Linked DNA regions of Homo sapiens: region 1 is linked to region 2. The links are contacts of gene promoters, found by promoter capture Hi-C in blood cells and fetal thymus (Javierre and others, 2016). All regions are on one chromosome and are shown on one strand. Each heading gives the region's core, a stretch centred on a gene start or on the middle of the fragment in contact. The rest is flanking DNA. Distances are from core to core; before and after follow the strand shown.

What was found. Contacts are between HindIII fragments. The CHiCAGO score rates a contact against its expected background, and 5 or more counts as called.
Region 1: the fragment with the promoter of OR52K2 here is called in contact with the fragment with the promoter of TRIM21 in region 2 in 6 of 17 cell types (monocytes, M0 macrophages, M2 macrophages and 3 more); the score reaches 9.3 in monocytes.

Annotation. Positions count from the first base shown.
Region 1 is chr11:4,447,785-4,450,781 of GRCh38, forward strand. OR52K2 (olfactory receptor family 52 subfamily K member 2) reads left to right here and starts at 1,511. Exons shown (of 1, transcript NM_001005172.2): 1 at 1,511-2,577. The coding sequence starts at 1,556. The coding sequence ends at 2,500. The HindIII fragment of the contact is 8,565 bases long and covers 1-2,997 here.
Region 2 is chr11:4,391,788-4,394,999 of GRCh38, forward strand. TRIM21 (tripartite motif containing 21) reads right to left here and starts at 1,915. Exons shown (of 7, transcript NM_003141.4): 1 at 1,846-1,915. RefSeq lists enhancers at 1,806-2,015, 2,036-2,095. The HindIII fragment of the contact is 6,932 bases long and covers 1-3,212 here.

The sequences.
Region 1 (2,997 bases), core at 261-2,760, 56 kb after region 2:
GTTGTGAAGGAAAACAGTTGCGGGTGTTAGATGGAGGGAGATATAAGGCCAAGGAATGCGGGATTGTGCTGATGTCAAGAAAAACATTTTAAAAAAGGGGGCAGATTTGTGTGGGAGGGGGAATATTGTAATGACAAATAACAGTTTTACAATGCTTTACAGTTTACAGGGACTCTTCTCATGATTTTATCTTTCCTCATCATGAAGCAGTAAAATTGTCATGGAAGATATGGTTATGCCTTCATCTATAGGTGAGGAACCTAAATCTTTAAAAATTTCAGTGATTAATACTAGTTTCTATTGGTAGGCTGATGGCTCAATCATTACTTAAACCCAAGTCTTTAGATTCTAATTTTTTTTCCTATATCATGATAATGAGTTTGAGTTATATTTCTGTTAACTTGAATATGCTGGATTTATACTTCTTAGGAAGCAATGAGGTAGAAGCAGAAGAGTGTAGTGATTTAAGACATTGGATTGGGAGGCAGCAAACCAGAGTTCTCGAAGCTCAAGTTTCATCTTTGACGTTTTCCAACTGTTCTGATTGTTAGTGACTTAGTCTTTTGTTTTCTCAATTCATAAGTGTCCACGTTTACTGAGCACTGTTTCAAGATTTGTGCTAAGTGTTTTAAAAGATCTCAAAATCCCCAAAAGAAAGTTTTTAGGCAGGAGCTGAAAAAAAAGGTGGCACAGGTCAAAAATATTGCAAGGAAATGTTTAAACGTTTTCAAGGGAAATGACAACAGAAGGTGGAAAAAGATAGAATGATAAGGATCCCAGATGGAAAAATAGTGTGAAGGGAATAGGTCAGTCTTGCAAAAAGGTAAGTGTGGGGCATCTCTTCTTCTGAATGTCATGAAGTCCAGGAAGGAAGAAGCACGTAGAGATGAAGGTTAAACTACAGTTAGGCAAAAGAGAACAACAAAAGGGCTTCTCATGTTCTCAAGTTACCTGGAGGTAGGGCTTTAGTTGGAGGGATTTCTGAGTGTCAAACAAGGACCTACGAAACCCTGCTAGAAAAAAAATCTAAAGAACTTGTAGGGAAGTGAATTATTAGAAAGTGCTAACTACATTTATTTTTCATATGACCAAGATTGACATTTCAGGGCAGAAACTCTTTCATAATTGGGAGTGTAGTTTGAATTGGAAGGCAATAGGAAGACAGTGACGGTAAATGTTTGTGGGTATGATTTGAATTAAGCAGCAATCTGTATTATTTACAAAGTTGCTTTTGGCCACATGCAGGCCACAAAAGGCTCTTCCTCCACTTGATTTCTCAATAAGGCTGCTTTGTAATACTAGCTTTATTGGAATTAAATGTCCTGAGCACCCAGTGTTTTTATAAACAGCTTAAGGGCAAGGATCATGCATAATATTTCATGATACATATGATTATTTTCTCATTTCTTTTCATGTCTAAAAATGGGTCTAAGAACTAATCTTCTCACAAGAATGATCAGAGTTTGAATGTGAGCATTGTAATTCTGCTGATATTGAATATTCTCTGGAAGGGCCCTGTGGAAGCAGATAAGGAGGAAGAGAATTCCCAGGAGCCATGTCAGCCTCCAATATCACCTTAACACATCCAACTGCCTTCTTGTTGGTGGGGATTCCAGGCCTGGAACACCTGCACATCTGGATCTCCATCCCTTTCTGCTTAGCATATACACTGGCCCTGCTTGGAAACTGCACTCTCCTTCTCATCATCCAGGCTGATGCAGCCCTCCATGAACCCATGTACCTCTTTCTGGCCATGTTGGCAGCCATCGACCTGGTCCTTTCCTCCTCAGCACTGCCCAAAATGCTTGCCATATTCTGGTTCAGGGATCGGGAGATAAACTTCTTTGCCTGTCTGGCCCAGATGTTCTTCCTTCACTCCTTCTCCATCATGGAGTCAGCAGTGCTGCTGGCCATGGCCTTTGACCGCTATGTGGCTATCTGCAAGCCACTGCACTACACCAAGGTCCTGACTGGGTCCCTCATCACCAAGATTGGCATGGCTGCTGTGGCCCGGGCTGTGACACTAATGACTCCACTCCCCTTCCTGCTGAGATGTTTCCACTACTGCCGAGGCCCAGTGATCGCTCACTGCTACTGTGAACACATGGCTGTGGTGAGGCTGGCGTGTGGGGACACTAGCTTCAACAATATCTATGGCATCGCTGTGGCCATGTTTATTGTGGTGTTGGACCTGCTCCTTGTTATCCTGTCTTATATCTTTATTCTTCAGGCAGTTCTACTGCTTGCCTCTCAGGAGGCCCGCTACAAGGCATTTGGGACATGTGTCTCTCATATAGGTGCCATCTTAGCCTTCTACACAACTGTGGTCATCTCTTCAGTCATGCACCGTGTAGCCCGCCATGCTGCCCCTCATGTCCACATCCTCCTTGCCAATTTCTATCTGCTCTTCCCACCCATGGTCAATCCCATAATCTATGGTGTCAAGACCAAGCAAATCCGTGAGAGCATCTTGGGAGTATTCCCAAGAAAGGATATGTAGAGGGTGAGGTGGAGAAAGAATGGGTTGGCTTGTCTGCTGGAGTTGGAGACAGGCTATGGTAGAATGTGCACGGCTGCCAGGATCTTCATGTTTAGTTTTTTCTTGGAAAAAAAAAAAATGATGTCCTGAAACTCAGAGCCACCAGTCTGTTCAGGACTCATGGGTCTGTGTCCTCTGGTAGCCTGTGGATTGAATGTGCTGACTGTGCTGTCTTCTCACAGTGCCCTCACCCCTATCAGTAACTTGACAGAGACTTGACCCATGGGTCTCCAGGTGACTTCACCGAAAGACACAAAGATGCTTCCAACTTCATTTGCTGAAGAGAAGACTTTGAAAATCTGAGTTTCTTTTCTTAGTCATTGGGAATTTGGTGAACTATCTACTCAGGACCTGGGTGAGGGCCAACAGTATATCTGACATAGGAATCCTTCATTCATTCTGACTGGTGGTGTCCAGCTTCTGATGAAACACTCAGTGTTAGGAAGTTTGAAACATTC
Region 2 (3,212 bases), core at 665-3,164:
ACTGGAGGTCATTATGTTAGGTGAAATAAGCCAGGCACAGAAACACAAACATTGTATGGTCTCACTCATTTGTAGAAGCTAAAAATTAAAACAATTGAACTCATGGAGTTAGATAATAGAAAGATGGTTACCAGAGGCTGGGAAGAGTAATAGGGAGGGTCTGTGTGTGGGGGAGAAGATGGGATGGTTAATGGGTACAAAAGTGGAGTGAATTAGATCTAGTATTTGATAGTACAACAGGGTGACTATAGTCAATAATTTAATTGTACATTAAAAATAAGAGTATAATTGCATAGTTTGTATTACAGATGATCAATGCTTGAGGTGATAGATGCCCCACTTACCCTGATGTGATTATTACACATTGTATACCTGTATCACAATATTCCATATACCCATAAATATACCTACTATGTGCCCACAAAAATTAAAAATATACTAAAAAAAGAAAAACAAAATGATGCAAAGGAAAATAAAAAATAAGAATAAAAATAATGGGTCAGGCACGGTGGCTCACACCTGTAATCCCAGCACTTTGGGAGGCCGAGGTGGGTGGATCACCTTAGGTCAGGAGTTCAAGACCAGCCTGACCAATATGGTAAAACCCTGTCTCTACTAAAAATACAAAAATTAGCTGGGAGTGGTGGTGGGCACCTGTAATCCCAGCTACTTGGGAGGCTGAGGCAGGAGAATTGCTTGAACCTGGGAGGCAGAGGTTGCAGTGAGCCAAGATTGTGCCATTGCACTCCAGCCTGGGTGACACGGCGAGACTCCCTCTCAAAAACAAAACAAAACAAAACAAGGCATAAAATTAATGGCAAAACAATTAATGTCAAAAACAGTAATTACTTTTGCACCGATCAAACAGTTTGTTGAATAAGTTTATTCCTGTTCTGAATAACAAGAACTCCTCCATTGTTTGGTCCATTGATCCAGTGAGACAGAAGGAGAAACTGAGTCCCTAAAAGAGGGAATGAAAATTGGCAAGAACCTCATAAAGCTGTTGACAGTTCTACTCTCATCATGTCCATTCCTGCTTAAACCCTCAGTGCTCATCCATCTCCTGTCGGGTACCAACAGGCCTCCATGTTGCTGAGAAATTATAGCTACTTTTTACCATGTACCTTCCATGTGCCAGAGATACTTCATGCTTTGAATATATCTTCATTAATCCCTCCTATAACGGCGGAAGTCAGTTGCATATATGTATGTAGGTGTATATGTATGTATACACACAGAGTAACAGGAACCGTGGCCAGCACTCCCTGGGCTCTTTTCTCAGCTGCTCCAAACTTAGTTTAGTTCCTGACAACACTTATTCTAGGACAAAGAATAATTCTGAAGGCCTATACATTTCTGGTTGAACATCCTAAACAGCCTGCCCCTCTCACCTCTGGAGGACTTTTGGACCTGGGAGTCTCCAGAATTGCAGACCTCCCCGACACTGGGCTCCCTACCCTCCTGGCTAGGCTGTAGTCCTGGCTATCCCAGCCACACCCAGCCGTCATCCTAGGTCAGGTGCCAGCATGGGGGCAGCCGGGCCCCTTCCCCTTCTGGGTAACTCCACAGTCACGTCCACAACCCAGCCTCCTCCCAGGTAGGGGGCAGCCGGGCCCCTTCCCCTTCTGGGTAACTCGGCAGTCAGGTCCACACCCCAGCCTCCTCCCAAGCAGGGGGCCAGCACCGGAAGCGCAGCTGGTCTTGGGTTGAGGGATCCCTGGTGGGAGAAGGGGCAAATGGGACCGGCTCAAGGATGGAGACTGGAAGGGGCTCTGCAACCCTGGGGCAGGGGAGAGAGGTCCCCTAGGAGGGCAGGGGTCCCTTGATCTAGTGGGGTTCACTCACCTTTACAGGGGACTCAACGCTGGTAGCCAGCTCCCTATTTCACTTTCAGTTTCCGCTCAGAAGCAAGTCTGAGAGGAAAGGGGAGGGAGGAGGAGGAGCCGTGGGAGGAGTGAGGGAGGAGCAGTGGGAGGAGCAGAGCCTTGAAAGGGTGTGTGGAGAAATGCGGCTGAGAAGAGAAGTCAGAGTTGAGCTGGGGGAGGCTTCAGAGGCTCTGCATGCCCAGGAGGCTTCTCTGAGACTGGGAAGGAGTGGAAACTCAGTAGCCCGTGGTCCTGGTTGCGCGCTCCCTCCCATGTCTTCATTATCTGATTTGGTAAAATATCTACAAGACGGGGGAGTCCGGGCTGCTTTCTTTGACACTGGTCATCACTCCACACCTAGACGCTATGTCCATGTCTGGAAGATGCTTTTAAGGAAGTTTTGATGCAGAGAAGAGTGGCCGGTGCTCTTCCTCGCGTGCCACCATCTGCTTACTTCCAGAAGCTAATTATTTTCATGTGACTGATGTGACTAATATTTTTTAACGCCTGCAGGTGAGTGATTTATTTCGCATGACCCCAAGGTGAGTGTCCCACCAGTGAGTGGTGAGAAGGAAATTGACATTTGACAACCAACTGTGTTCTTGTCACTGAGCTAGGGACATTCTCAGGTTATATTATTTTTATTTTTAATCGTAAAAATATAGAACATAAAATTTACCAAAGTAATTTTTTTAATTTTCAATCTTGTGTGTCTATAGTAGGTGTATATATTTGTGGGGTACATGAAATATTTTGATACAGGTAGAGCATACAATCCGTAATAATCATATCAGGGTAAGTGGGGTATCTATCCATCACCTCAAGCACTTATCATTTGTGTTATATACAATCCAGTTATATGCTTTTAGTTATTTTAAAATGATAAATTATCATTGACTGTATTCACCTTGTTATGCTATAAAATACTAGATCTTATTCATTCTCTCTCATGTATTTTTGAACCCATTAATCATTCCCCACTACCCTTCCCAGCCTTTGGTAACCATCATCCTCTCTATCTTCATGAGTTGGATTGTTTTAATTTTTAACTCCCACAAATAAGTGAGAACATAACAATTTGTTTGTTTGCCTGTGTTTGGTTTATTTTACTTAACATAATAATCCCCAATTCCATCCATCTTGTAGCAAATGAAAGGTTCTCCTTCTTTTTATGGCTGAATAGTGCTCCATTGTGTATGTGTACCACACTTTCCTTATCCATTTATCTGTTGATGGACACTTACGTTGCTTCCAAATCTTGGCTATTGTGAATAGTGCTGCGATAAACATGGGAGTGCAGATATCTCTTTGATATACTGATTTCCTTTCTCTTGGATATATACCTAA